5 separate regions of the Homo sapiens genome follow, and all the other regions are linked to region 1. The links are contacts of gene promoters, found by promoter capture Hi-C in human tissues and cell types (Jung and others, 2019). All regions are on one chromosome and are shown on one strand. Each heading gives the region's core, a stretch centred on a gene start or on the middle of the fragment in contact. The rest is flanking DNA. Distances are from core to core; before and after follow the strand shown. Region 1 holds the start of SEC14L5 (SEC14 like lipid binding 5). Region 2 overlaps HMOX2 (heme oxygenase 2). Region 3 holds the start of C16orf96 (chromosome 16 open reading frame 96). Region 4 overlaps MGRN1 (mahogunin ring finger 1). Region 5 holds the start of CDIP1 (cell death inducing p53 target 1).

The links. The method cuts DNA at HindIII sites, captures the fragments that hold promoters and counts their contacts. A contact is called where the count stands out against the background at its distance.
Region 2: a contact is called between a fragment that was not itself captured here and the fragment with the promoter of SEC14L5 in region 1, in 1 of the 25 tissues and cell types used here (hippocampus).
Region 3: a contact is called between the fragment with the promoter of C16orf96 here and the fragment with the promoter of SEC14L5 in region 1, in 1 of the 25 tissues and cell types used here (mesenchymal stem cells).
Region 4: a contact is called between a fragment that was not itself captured here and the fragment with the promoter of SEC14L5 in region 1, in 1 of the 25 tissues and cell types used here (dorsolateral prefrontal cortex).
Region 5: the fragment with the promoter of CDIP1 here is called in contact with the fragment with the promoter of SEC14L5 in region 1 in 1 of the 25 tissues and cell types used here (neural progenitor cells).

The regions. Positions count from the first base shown.
Region 1 is chr16:4,957,032-4,959,762 of GRCh38, forward strand. SEC14L5 (SEC14 like lipid binding 5) reads left to right here and starts at 1,299. Exons shown (of 16, transcript NM_014692.2): 1 at 1,299-1,414; 2 at 2,242-2,355. The coding sequence starts at 2,293. RefSeq lists silencers at 1,184-1,393, 1,192-1,487 and an enhancer at 1,291-1,826. The HindIII fragment of the contact is 18,853 bases long and covers 1-2,731 here.
Region 2 is chr16:4,503,113-4,505,812 of GRCh38, forward strand. HMOX2 (heme oxygenase 2) reads left to right here. Exons shown (of 6, transcript NM_002134.4): 2 at 2,372-2,498. The coding sequence starts at 2,413. Among named protein-coding and RNA genes, the nearest start is that of HMOX2, 28 kb to the left of the region's middle. The HindIII fragment of the contact is 3,869 bases long and covers 1-2,700 here.
Region 3 is chr16:4,555,090-4,557,789 of GRCh38, forward strand. C16orf96 (chromosome 16 open reading frame 96) reads left to right here and starts at 1,251. Exons shown (of 16, transcript NM_001145011.2): 1 at 1,251-1,820. The coding sequence starts at 1,401. The HindIII fragment of the contact is 10,803 bases long and covers 1-2,700 here.
Region 4 is chr16:4,650,243-4,652,942 of GRCh38, forward strand. MGRN1 (mahogunin ring finger 1) reads left to right here. Exons shown (of 17, transcript NM_015246.4): 2 at 123-241; 3 at 1,721-1,809; 4 at 2,436-2,582. Among named protein-coding and RNA genes, the nearest start is that of MIR6769A, 20 kb to the right of the region's middle. The HindIII fragment of the contact is 6,104 bases long and covers 1-2,700 here.
Region 5 is chr16:4,537,191-4,540,100 of GRCh38, forward strand. It overlaps CDIP1 (cell death inducing p53 target 1), which reads right to left and starts at 1,583. Exons shown (of 6, transcript NM_013399.3): 1 at 1,512-1,583. It also overlaps a transcript of C16orf96 not described here. RefSeq lists silencers at 980-1,199, 1,210-1,499. The HindIII fragment of the contact is 9,452 bases long and covers 1-2,910 here.

The sequences.
Region 1 (2,731 bases), core at 49-2,548:
TTTGAACTTCTGGGCTCAAGGGATCCTCCTGCCTCAGCCTCTTGAGTAGCTGGGACCACAGGCACGTGCCAACACGCCTGGCTAATTTTTTTTTTTTTTTTTTGCGACGGAGCTTTGTTCTTCTTGCCCAGGCTGGAGTGCAGTGGCGCAGTCTCGGCTCACTGCAACCTCCGCCTCCTTGATTCAAGCGATTCTCCTGCCTCAGCCTCCCGAGTAGCTGAGATTACAGGTATACGCCACCATGCCCGGCTAATTTTGTATTTTAGTAGAGACGGGGTTTCCTCATATTGGCCATGCTGTTCTCGAACTCCTGACCTCAGCTGATCTGCCTGCCTTGGCCTCTCAGTGTGCTGGGATTACAGGCGTGAGCCACCGCGCCCTGCCTAAACTAAAAAAAAATTTTTTTGTAGAGATAGGTTCTTGCTATGTTACCCAGGGTGGTCTCCAACTCCTGGGTTCAAGCGGTCCTCCCGCTTCCGCCTCCTAAAGTGTTTGGATTACAGGCGTGAGACATGGCGCCCGGCCTCTTACCTGTTTTAAATTGTCCTTTCTCTCCGCTGGCTCCTTGAGCCCCTTTCCTGCTTATTTTTCTCTCGTTAGAGTTTTTCACTACCTCACACATCATATATTTGCCTTATTTATTGAGTGTCTGTCTCCCCACCGTAGTATAAACTCCACGAGGGCAGGGATTCGTGCGTGTGGCTCACCGGCGGCTCTCCAGCGCCTGGACAGGGCTGACCCCCAGCAGGCGCTCTGTGAAGGTGTGCAGAGTGGGCGAAGGTGCATGCGCGGGCCGTGGGGCGGGGACAGGTGGAGGAGCCAGTCAGACCCAAGTGCAGCGGGACGAGGGCGAGGTTAATCTGAGCAAGAAAAGCGTAAATTCTGCTTATCTACAAATGTAAACAGTACTGTCGGCCAGACGCAGGGTCCGGGGCGGGTCGGCCCGGACTCAGGGTCTGCTTGGAGGCAGAGCTAGATTAGGGCGGGGTCGTCCTGTGGCCTACCATTCCCCGAGGCTGAGGGCCTTGGAGGGCGGGGCCAGTGAAGGGGGAGGGGACTTCCTGAGGTGTGACCAATCTAGAGAAAGGACTGGGCTGAGGGCGTGGTCAAACAAGCGACATCTAAAAATAAGGGGCGGGGCTAGAACCAGGGGGAGTTCGCCTGGGGCGGGGCCAGAGTGGGGCGGGACCAGTTAGGGGGCAGGGCCAACCTGGGCGGGGCCATGGCCGGGGACGTGGGCGGGACCAGGTCAGGGGCGGGGCCAGGCCAGGATCTCCGCTGTCCCGGGTCCTGGAGCTCTCTCGGCCCGGCAGGTTTCGCTCCCGCCCCTCCGGCCTTCCACAGCTGTCCTGGCCGCAGGGTGTTCAAGGCGGGACACACCAGGCTAGAGATCCGCGATCGGGCCCCGCCTCAGGTACTGCGCTCCAGGCCAGGCGGGCGCGGGTAAGCGCTCAGCTCCCGAGCCAGGCGGGCTTCCAGGGCACTTCCCCTAGGCTGCATTCCCAAAGGCTCCCGAGGGCGAGGGTGAGCAAAGCTGCGGGGACCTGTGTGTGCATGCGTGTGCGATTGCCTCTACGTGTGTGTACGTGTGTGTGCATGTGCGCACGGGTGTGTGTGCGTGTGTGCACGTCTGTGCACACCAGGGGAATTGCGTGCGTGGAGCTGGGCAGGTGCGTGTTTCAGGGTGTGTGTGCAAAGTTGGAGGCGTGTGCAAAAGCAGTCCCGTGTGGGAGGGAAACCTGCGTGTGTACATGTGTGTGATAGAGACAGTGCCTGTGAAATGTGGTGAAGGCTGTGTGTGTATGTCAGGGTGTCTGGGAGGAAAATGGGAGGGCAGGTGCAAGGAGACTCGGGGGTGGGCTGTAGGCCAGCAAGTCTGTGGCAAGCTGCGGGGTGCATGCGTGAATAGAACCGTGGGAGTGTAAGAATTGCAAATGTGTGTGTGTCTGTGTGGGTGGCCGTAAGGCTTCTGGGGGCCCTCAGTGTGAAGGGGTGGGGGTAGAGGAAAGTTTGGGGGTGCTGACTGCTCTTGGAAGGCTGAGCGTGGTCTGGGGCCATGGCTAATGACAGGGAAGCTGTTGGGGCTTGGCCTGGAGTAATTTGGGGGGAATATCAGCCTTCTCAATTTGAAGGCTGGGGAGCTGTGTGGGTGGGGCCAGGGGCTGCCCCTTACACTTGGTGGGTGGTGTCCCTGCTTCCCGAGGTGGGAGCTGCAACCTCACCAGTCACTCCTCGCCCCAGGCTCTGTGCACACCCCTGCCTGGTGACCTCCATTGGTGCTCCAGCGTGAACATGGTGCAAAGATACCAGTCTCCTGTCCGAGTCTACAAGTACCCGTTTGAGCTGGTCATGGCGGTGAGTGACTCCTGATTCTTGGGCCCCCATGTGACAGTTGGAGGGGCTTGAGATCAGCTATGGCGGTAGGAAGACGGAGCTCCTTAGACTCCCAGATCAGAAGGAATTAGTGAGTTACTCAGCTGACCTGGTGGGTTTAACTTCTATCCAGTGACCTCTCTGTCCAACCATCCTATCCTCGGCCCAGTGACCAAAACACAAAGTCTTTCTTCCTTCTCCTTGTTGAAGCTGACCTGCTCCCTTACTTTAGACTCTCCTGATAGAAAACAAAGGTATCAGGGGCCAAGCCACTGCTGTCATTTCATATAATGGCATATCACAGTGATAAATGGAATGGTGGTGATAATGACAACAGCTGTTTATTGAATGTTTACAG
Region 2 (2,700 bases), core at 115-2,614, 450 kb before region 1:
CTAGCAAAGCTGTACTTTTACCAAAAAAAAAAAAGAAAACATTTATAAATCAAGGTCTGAAGGCCCATGTGAGGCTTATTCTACAGCTTGCAATGCCTGTTTTTGCCCCTTGGTAAGTGGACGCACAGCTGGGCAGCCTTATGCTATCTCTGTGAACTACCCATTTCTGGCTTTGTTCATAATATTCCCTTGATCTGGAGGCCCTCCCCCAGCCCTGCCCCAAATCCTGTCTGTGTTGAGGGTCCTGCCCCAGGAAGCCCTCTGCATACTCTTCCCTGCATGTAATACCTGCCTGCTTTCACATTCTTCTAGACTGTGCTGTGCATCGTACAGTTCATCAGCATTATTGCAGAGTAGAGTGTCTCTGATTTGGAGTCAAGAGAAGGTTCCATTTTTCTGTACATCCCGATGTTTATTTTCTGAGTGTTCTCAGACATCACTAAGCCTCAGTCAAAATAAAGTATGATCATGATGTAACATTCATTGAGTGCTTATCACATGGTAGGCATTGTGCTATATGAGTTATTGCTTGACTTCCTAAAATAATCCCAGTAGAGATGCTAAATCTAAAGGTGAGAGAGATGGTTCAAAAAGACCTCAGTGAGCAAACCATGTACTATAATATCCTAAAAGATAACAAAAATGTAACTAGGTATCTAGAGAAAACTCAGGAAGGATATGTGCCTTGGGCCTTTTAAGGACCATTTCTTAACACTTCTGTGTTCTTCTTGACACCTGTTTCTGGGTAGAGCACATAGAAAATGCTCAGTAAATAAGTTCTTTTTCCTTGGCCCAGTTTGGCCTGATTTGGCCCCAGTTCTGTCTTTGTGAGTTACTTTATTAGTTGTCGGTGCTACTGTGCTGCTATTCATGTGGAAGATTCCCCAAATGGGCTGCGCCTTACATTGCCTGAGCAGAAGCCCCGAGGGATGGAGGATGAGCTTGCCTTGTTATGGGACTGTGTTTCCCTGGCTGACAAAGGCTCAGCATTTGCAGCAGGCAATGGGAATTGATTGGCCAACTTAATATTTCCTTCAGCCTAGCAAAGTCCTGAGTAGGCTAGGGACAGTCTGCTTTTTTGGTAACTCCTGTAGGCTGCCTTCTGCACAAGGCACCCAGCCTCTCACAGGTAGGATGAACTGGCCTCAGCACGCTTGCAGAGGGGTGGAACTGTGCGTTGCTTGCCAAGCTTTTTGTTTCCCTAAGGTTTTTGAGGTTTTCTTTGTTTTTGGTAACTTTCAATTTTTTTTTTTTTTTTTTTTTTTTGGACAGAGTTTCACTCTTATTGCCCAGGCTGGAGTGCAGTGGCGCGATCTTGGCTCACTGCAACTTCTGCTTCGTAGGTTCAAGTGATTCTCCTGCCTCAGCCTCCTGAGTAGCTGGGATTACAGGCACGCGCCACCACATCCGGCTAATTTTGCATTTTTAGTAGAAACAGGGTTTCTCCATGTTGGTCAGGCTGGTCTTAAACTCCTAACCTCAGGTGATCCACCCACCTTGGCCTCCCAAAGTGGTGGGATTACAGGCATGAGCCACCGTGTCTGGCCTAACTTTTAATTTTGATACGGTCTTTTTTTTTTTTTTTTTTTTTTTTTTAAGACAGTTTCGCTCTTGTTGCCCAGGCTGGAGTGCAACGGCGTGATCTCGGCTCACTGCAACCTCTGCCTCCTGGGCTCAAGAGATTCTCCTGCCTGAGCCTCCCGAGTAGCTGGGATTACAAGTGTGCACCACCATGCCCGGCTATTTTTTGTATTTTTAGTAGAGACAGGGTTTCACCATGTTAACCAGGCTAGTCTCAAACTCCAGTCTGCCTCGGCCTCCCAAAGTGCTGGGATTACAGGCATGAGCCACTGTGCCCTGCCTTGATACAGTTTTAAGCATACAGAAAAATGGTAAGAATAGTACAAAGAACTCTCATACCTCTTCCCCAGATTCACTGCTAGGATTTTGCCTTGTTTGCTTTTCTGACTTGCCAGTGTCCCCCACCCTGCAGCATATGCACATGCACACACACTGTCTTCTGAACCATCTGACAGGGAGTTGCAGGCAGTGTACCTTTACTTCTGAATACCCCAGTGTGTATTTCTTAGGAACAAAGACATTCTCTTATATAATCGCAGTACAATTATTTTTAAAAACCAGCAAGCTTAATGTCAATACAATGCTATTACCTAATACATTGTTCATATTCAGATTTTTTCCATATTCCACTATGGTCCCAGTAATGGCAGAGCTTTATTTTAAAGAAAACAATCCTGGGGTGTGTGGGTGTCACCTTGGTTACATTCGCTCTGAGGAAAGCAGAACCGACAGGTATTTGGGGAAGTGACTGCCGTGGGTGCCACATCACCAGCTCCTTGTGTCTCTGCAGGACCAGAGGAGCGAGAGCAGCAAGAACCACACCCAGCAGCAATGTCAGCGGAAGTGGAAACCTCAGAGGGGGTAGACGAGTCAGAAAAAAAGAACTCTGGGGCCCTAGAAAAGGAGAACCAAATGAGGTGAGCGATGGGGGCTGGCTGCACTGAATCAGGTGGGCCCAGCACCTGTCGTGCTCAGCACACCTGGTTTTGTCTGTTGGCAGCACTGGGGAGTGGCCATGGGCCATGAGCTCTGGACCCCTGGGTGCCTGCTTGGCCCTGCAGGGACCGCATACAGCTTCGGCTGCTTAGAACTCTCCCCACTGGTCCATTGTCTCATCCA
Region 3 (2,700 bases), core at 1-2,500, 400 kb before region 1:
CCATCTCCACTAAAAATATAAAAATTAGCTGGGCGTGGTGGCAGGCGCCTGTGATCCCAGCTACTCAGGAGGCTGAGGCAGGAGAATCGCTTGAACCCAGGAGGCGGAGGTTGCAGTGAGCGGAGATCGCGCCACTGCACTCCTGCCTGGGTAACAGAGAAAGACTTTGTCACACACACTACACACACACACACACACACACACACACACACACACACACACGAGAAAATGGAACACTGTGGGGGGCCTTTGGATGCGTCCAGAAATGAATGTAGTTCTTCAGATTCTTTTTTTTTTCTTTTGAGACGGAGTCTCGCTCTGTCGCCCAGGCTGGAGTGCAGTGGCACGATCTTGGCTCACTGAAACCTCCACCTCCCGGATTTAAGCAATTCTCTGCCTCAGCCTCCAGAGTAGCTGGGATTACAGGCACGTGCCACCACGCCTGGCTGATTTTTGTATTTTTAGTAGAGGCGGAGTTTCACCGTCTTGGCCAGGCTAGTCTTGAATTCCTGACCCCGTGGTCCACCCGCCTTGGCCTCCCAGAGTGCTGGGATTACATATGTCAGCCACTGTGCCCGGCCTTTTCTCTTTTCTTTTTCTTTTCTTTTCTTTTTTTTTTTTTTTTTGAGGCAAGGTCTCACTCTGTTGCCCAGGCTAAGTGCAGTGGCACAATCATAGCTCACTGTAGCCTCAAACTCCTGGCTTCAAGCAATCCTCCCACCCCATCCTCCTGAGTAGCTGGGACTACAGATGTGCGCCAGCACATCCAGCTAATTACAAATTTTTTTTTGTAGAAACAGGGTCTCACTATGTTGCCCAGGCTGCTCTCGAACTCCTGGCTTCAAGCAGTCCTCCCGCCTTTGCCTCCCCAAAGTGCTGGGATTACAGGCCTGAACCCCCACACCCACCCAGCCAGTACTTCAGATTCTTATCTCTTTGTAAAACCTGGGTCTTCCTAACTCCAAGAAACCTGTCTTCTGCCCGGATTCGAGAAAATTCCAAGGAGGGAGCTGCCTCTCCATCCCTTCCATATGTGCTTCTAGGAAAAAGTTACCAGTCTCACATCACCAGAGGGCTTGAATGAAGAGGCTGCCATCAGCTATTCAAACATTCATCCAATATTAACTGAGCACCTACTCTGGGTGAGGCTTACCAGGGAGCACCTGCCCCACTCCAGACTTTGAATTGCGCCCGTTTCATCACATTCTTTGGTGTCCTGGCAACCAGAGACTCTGATCTGAGCTCCAGCCAGAACAGAGGCCATTCCTCCCTGACTGCTGTGACTCACCACCACCCCAGGCCTCTGAGGACCAGTCCATGTAGCTCTCGGAACCACTGAAAGCTACCCCTTGTCCTTGAGGACACCTGGAACCCCAGCCCCACTGACCCACCCTGGCAGGATGAGCTTCTCACTCACGTTCACCGAGCTGGCCAACATCGCCATCCCACAGTGCGGGGTGCTGAACTTCAAGGCCCTGCACCTCCTGCTGCACGGCATCTTGGAGCACATCCACATGGCCGAGCTCAAGAAAGTCCTCTCAGGCGATGAGGACTTCCTGCAGACCTCGCAGGTGGTCATCATGCCCAGGGAAGGAGACGCCCAGCCTATCCTCAACCCCATGAAGAGGCTCAGCAATGTCTTCGACCACGTGGTGAGCCGCCTCGACAAGTTGGAGAACCAGCTGGCCCTGCTGCAGGACCTGCCCTCCACTGCCCAGCTGCTGGAAGCCAGCCAGGGCACTGCCCGGCCCGTCCAGGACCTGTGGCATCTGATCAAGCTCCGGAAGATGGTGGAGGGTCATGATGAAGTCATGGCCAAGGTACGCCCCCAGCCTCCAGACACTTCTTTTCCTCCCTTCACCACTGGCTCTCTCCTGGGACGTCTTTTTTTTGTTTTTGAGACTCCGTCTCGCTCTGTCACCCAGGCTGGAGTGCAGTGGTGTGATCTTGGCTCACTGCAACCTCCGCCTCCCGGGTTCAAGTGATTCTCCTGCCTCAGCCTCCCTAGTAGCTAGGATTTCAGGCACATGCCACCACACCCGGCTAATTTTTGTATTTTTAGTAGAGATGGGGTTTCACTATGTTGGCCAGGCTGGTCTCAAACCCCTGATCTCAACTGATCCACCTGCCTCGGCTTCCTAAAGTGCTGGGATGACAAGCGTGAGCCACTGCGCCCAGCCTTCTCCTGGGACATCTTGTTGCTTACTCACCTACGATGGGCCATCTCCTTATGCAGAGTGGGAAGAAGGGTGCTTTAGAGTCAGGCACAACCAAAACGCCAAGCTTGCAGCCTCCATCAAGTATTGCAAAGAAGCCAGACACAAAAGGCTACCCAGTGTATGATTCCATTTATACGAAATGTCCAGAATAGGTAAATCCATGGAGACAGAAAGCAGTGGTTGCCAGGGGCTTGGAGGAGGAGAGAATGGGGAGTAATTGCTTTGTGGATATAGGGTTTCCTTTTGGGGTGATGAAAATGTTTTGGAACTAGATGGAGGTGGTAGTTATACAACCTCACTGATGTACTAAATGACACTGAATTGTTCACTTAAAAATGGCTAATTGTACATTATGTGAATTTCACCCCAATTTTTTTTTGAGACAGGGTGTCACTCTGTCATCCAGGCTGGAGTGCAGTGACTCAGTCATGGCTCACTGTAGCCTCGACCTCCCAGACTCAAGCAATCCTCCCACCTCAAC
Region 4 (2,700 bases), core at 107-2,606, 310 kb before region 1:
CAGTGAGCTGAGATAGCGCCACTGCACTCCAGCCTGGGTGGAGCGCCACTGCACTCTAGCCTGAGACTCTGTCTCAAAAAAAAAAAAAAAAAATCTATAATCGTGTTTCCTTTTTTAAACAGGAAACTACTTTGCTTCGCACTTTTTCATGGGAGGAGAGAAATTCGACACCCCCCACCCTGAAGGTTACCTCTTTGGAGAGAACATGGATCTGAACTTCCTGGGCAGCCGCCCGGTCCAGGTGGGTCTGGACAGGGCTGTCTCATGGGGCTGTGGGGGTGGGAGGCCCCTGTCCCCAGCAGTCCGCATCCCAGCCATGAGGGCAAGCAGGCACCAAATCACCCCTAAAGGGGGCAGAGCTCCTGGCAGGATTCCAGTTGAGCTTGGGTGTGGGCACGTGCCCTGGAATGGGTTGTGTCCTGGTGCTGCCCCCTAGAGGCCAGATGGCCAGGGGCAGGTCACTGAGAAACAGAGCAGCCATACTGAATGGGTGCGTCTGGGCTGCAACGGCTGCGGAACATGGTGGATTTGATTCCAGCCTTCTTGGATGACTTTCTTTACAAGGCAAAAATAGTATTTACAGACTGGGCATTGTGGCTCACGCCTGTAATCCCAGCACTTGGGGAGGCTGAGGCGGGCAGATCACCTGAGGTCAGGAGTTTGAGACAAGCCTGGCCAAAATGGTGAAACCCCGTCTCTACTGAAAAAAAAGAAAAATTAGCCGGGTGTGGTGGCACGTGCCTGTAATCCCAACTACTCGGGAGGCTGAGGCAGGAGAATCACTTGAATCTGAGAGGCGGAGGTGGCAGTGAGCCGAGATTGCACCACTACACTCCAGACTGGGCAACAAAGGGAGACTGTCTCAAAGAAAAAAAAAAAAAAGAATATTTACTTTCCCTAGAACAGTGGGCAAGAGACATGGTCCAAAGGAGAGATGCAGACAGCTGGCTAACATCTTCCCCTCGTTGCCAGAGAAGGGCACATTCGAGTACTGTCATAGTACTCGAGTACTGTGAGCTGTCTGTTCAGCACACATGTGGCACCTGCTGCGTGCCTAGTGCTCTTCCAGGGCTTGGGGTGAAAGCAGACCCTGCCTCTGCTACCTGGTGGGGGCGTAGACAATTAATACGGGACAAATGGGTAGAAGAGAGAAGGGGCAGAAAGGGAGGCTCTACTGGAGAGGCCATGGCTGAACCAAGCCATGATAGGTGGGAAGGGGGCCCCTCCAGAAGAAGCTAGAAGGCAGGGGGCCTGGGAACAGAGGAAGAGGTGAGAGGGTGCAGGCCTCAGGGGACAGGAGGCCGGAAGAGCCAGTAAACTTTGGGGGCCCTGGGGCGGGTTGCTGAGCTGTGCTCGTAGGAAGCTTTGGGGATGGAAAGGGTGGGGACTGAGGAAGGGGCTGAGGGTGCTCGGGGCAGTGATGGATATGGGAAGCCTGGGAGAGCAGGTTGGGGATGGGCAGCCCCAGCGTGCAGGGGTCTGGCGTTGAGGCTGCCTGGCTGGATTTGCTCAGGGTGATTTGGTCCTGGCCGTTGCGTGTGCTGGCTGCGTGGCCTGCAGCTTCTACCTGTAAATGAGAACAGTGCACCCAGTATAGCCCCTCCCATGGGACTAGATCCCAGGGATACCCTCTGGGGCTGTGGCTGCTGCACCCTGACCCGTTTTCTGTTGTTGGCTGCTCCTGAGGGAGTCACCTGGGGCCCTGTGGTTTTTCTCCTAGTTTCCCTACGTCACTCCTGCCCCCCACGAGCCCGTGAAGACGCTGCGGAGCCTGGTGAACATCCGCAAAGACTCCCTGCGGCTGGTGAGGTAACTTCACCCTGCCCCTGGGGACCCTGTGGCTCTGTGGGGCGCAGCCTGTGGTGGAGGTTCTGGCTTGATGCTTGAGGAAAAGGGCAGGCGGGAGGGGCCCCAGTTTCTGCGCCCTCCCGTGTGGAATGAGAGGCTGTCCTGGGCTGAGCGAGGGAAAGGGCATGTGGAACAAGAGCCGTTTAGCCAGGGCTTCTCAGCTGTGCCGCACAGGGACCCTGGGCAGTGTCTGGAGGCAGCCAGGTGGGGTGCTTGGCATCTCAGGTGGGTGCCAGGGGTGCTGCAGACTTCCTGCCATGCACAGGACGGCCCCCCCACAGACAGGAATGACCCAGCACCAGATTTCAGCAGGTTCAGAAACTGCTTAAACCGACTAGACTTGAGGCATCTGGGGCTGTCTCTGAACCAAAAGCACGTACCCCGTCTTCTGTGGGCAGGAAGAAGGAGAGGCAAGCCCTGGACCACTGGGCTTTCATGTACAAATAGGAAACAGCCCCTATGTCTACTGGAGAAGCGGGCTGTGTCCACATAGCCACCTCCACGGCCCCTCAGCCTGGCAGGGGAGGAGGCAGCCTCCGCAGATGGGGCCGCTGACCCGCTGCCTTTCTCTCCACCGCCTGGGGTAGGTACAAAGACGATGCCGACAGCCCCACCGAGGACGGCGACAAGCCCCGGGTGCTCTACAGCCTGGAGTTCACCTTCGACGCCGATGCCCGCGTGGCCATCACCATCTACTGCCAGGCATCGGAGGAGTTCCTGAACGGCAGGGCAGTGTGAGTCCCGCGGGCGGCTGGCACCGGCCTGGCTGGGGGCCCCAGACTCCTGGGGGAGGCTTCTGTCCACCTTACTAACCAGAGGGAGAAAACCAAACCGTGCTCTTTGACCATACTC
Region 5 (2,910 bases), core at 333-2,832, 420 kb before region 1:
CAAAAAACAAGAGGGACTGCTGGTTGGACAAATATGTGATGAAATACAATAAAGTGTTAACTCTACATTCTAGGTGGTGGTCTGTGGGTGTTCACTGTAAAATTCCTTCAACTTTTGTATGTTTCACGTTTTTCGTAACTGAATGTGTAGAGGGGGAGTCTTCTGAGACTGGCAAGTGACTGGGCATAACCTTTCCGATTAAGGGCAGAGGGCAAGGCAGAGCTGGCACGCCTCCCTCCACCCAGTTCTACCTAGATCGGCCCCAAGGGAAGCAGCAAAGAACCCAGGAGAGCAGTAACTTGCCCGGGCACCGCCCCGCCCAGCATCAGGCCCCAGAATACAGAAGAAACTGGCAGAAACACTATGGAACGTCCCTGCCCCCGGGCCCGCCAACCCCCTCACTGGGACAGGTTCTCAGCCCCAGCTGCGCCCGGGAATGATCTGGGGAGCCTACTAAATGCAGATTCCTGGGCAGCGCGACGGAACTACAGCATCCCAACACCTGGGGTGGGCCCCAGGAATCTGCCCGTTTCCCAAGAGCCCCAGGTGGTTCTGACGCAGAGGATCTTGAGCCCACCTTTGGAGGAACTCACAGCCACTCGCCCCACCTCATCTAACACCTGTTGAGAAGCCCCCCAAGGAACTCGCTAAGCCAAGGTCCTCGAAGGCGCGACTCCTAGCCCCAAGCTAGGCCAGGCCGTCGCCATCTCCGCCGGGGATGCGCGGCCGAGCGCCACATCCCGACTCCACACGTCGGCGAGCCGGGCGCGGGTGCAGGACACTGCTGGGCTCCGGGACGGCCAAGGTCACCCGCGGGGCTCGGCAGGGGCTGGCTCGGCCACGGGGCTCCTCCTCGACCCCCTTTCCTTGAGAAAACAACTCCCACCCCTCCCCTCCCCGTCTCGCCCTGCAAGACGGAGATGGCAATTTCCACAACCTTCCCTGACGGAAAAACGTGCGGGCGAGCAGGCTGCCATTCCGGGCGCACAACCCCGCGGCACACAGCGGGGCGCCCGCCCGGGCCCCGCCACCGCAGCGGCTTCGACATCCCCAGGGCCGCGCTAGGTCTCGGCAGCGCCCTGAGGGGAGGACGGGCCCCGCCATGCCGCGCCCCAACCGCCGGCCCCGCTTTACCTCCAGAAGCCCGGTGCCCGAGGCCGGCCGAAAGCGGAGAGGGGCCCGGGTCCGGACAGGCGCCGGCAGAACAAGACCCTCAGCCCCGCGCGGCTTTGCGCGCACAACGAAACCCCCCAACCCACCGCCCACCCCACCGCCCAGAGGCTTCTAGGACTTGTAGTCCGCCCGGTCACCCCCCCCACCACAACCCGCTCTGAGAGGCTGGGGACTACGGTGCCCGGCATGCACCGCCCAGGCGCCGCGGGCGGGGGCGGGGAGGGGGCGCCACGGTCCGAGGTCACGCCCCGACCTGAGGAGAGCTGGCGCCCAGACCCTTCCCCCGGGGAGGAGGGCTCCCGCGCGAAGCCGTCTCCGAATGCGTCCAGTCGACTCACCGTCCCCGCAGCCCTGGGGCAGCGGCCGCAACAGCAGGACCGAACGCCTCGGCAGCTGGCAGTCGCACTTCTGTCACAAGGAGGCGGGTAGACTTTGGACCAGGGCCGAGGCCCGGGACGTCACGGTGGGGGGTGGGGTCTCGGGAGGCACGTGATGCGCCGTGATGACGTCAGTGGGAGCGGAGGCGATTTGGCCTAGAGCTGGGGCTGAGCACGTGGGATGGTCGGGGCCTGTTTGCCCAATGTACACGAGGCTGGAGAATAGGGAAAGAACCGTCCCTGTGAGCGCCTCCTCTTCACTCATGCCAGCAACAGGGCAGGGCATCTTCCTCCAGGGCTGCATTTTTTCTTTTATGCGACTAATATTTATTGAGTTTGGGAGGTGCATTACATAAAACCTTGAACCACACGGTCACTGTCCCTGCGCTTGAAACTGCCTTTGCAAAAATTACAACAGAAAATTATGACAGTGAAAGAGAGCTGACCTAACCCACTCCATCTTGCTTCTAACCTCCAGGTTGTCCTTGTTCATTCCTAGGCATAGGCAGAACTAACTTTGGGAGCAACTTAGTTTATAGTTTAATATTGAAACAAAGATAGTTAACAGCCCTTTCCCAAAACAAACCCCCTTGTTGCCTGAGAACCAGGCTTCCTTTGTAAGAGTAACACGTTAGCTACAAGATTAGACATTATAGTTTAGGGCCCAGCTCAGTGGCTAACGCCTGTAATCCCAGCACTTTGGAAGGCTGACGCAGGTGGATCACTTGAGGTCAGGAGTTTGAGACCAGCCTGGCCAACATGGTGAAACCATGTCTCTATTTAAAAATACAAAAATTAGCCGGGTATGGTGGCACGCACCTGTAATCCCAACTACTAGGGAGGCTGAAGCCCAAAAATTGCTTGAACCCGAGAGATGGAGGTTGCAGTGAGCTGAGATTATGCCTCTGCACTCCAGCCTGAGCAAGAGACTGAGACTCCATCTCAAAAAAAGAAAGAAAGAAAGAAATTACGGTTTAGGAGTCATGCACCCAGAGGCCACAAGATTCTAAACCTCCCCAGTTGATCCTAGGTATAATATCACTATTGTAAAACCTAAGATTGGTACTCTTAGGTGTTTTTCTGACCCTGCAGTCTGATGCACCAGCCAAGGCCACCTAGAGCTGTAATCTGACTCAACCAGTTCTTGCATCCTTCAACACCCTGTGATTTCATCTCCCACCCCACCAATCAGCACTCCCTACTCCTTGGCAGCTTATCTACCAAATTACCCTTTAAAAACTCTAGGCTCTGAATTTCCAGGGAGACTGATTTGAGTAATGAAACTTTGGTCTCCCATTCAGCCAGCTCTGTGTGGATTAAACTCTTTCTCTATTGCAGTTCCCCTGTCTTGATACATTGG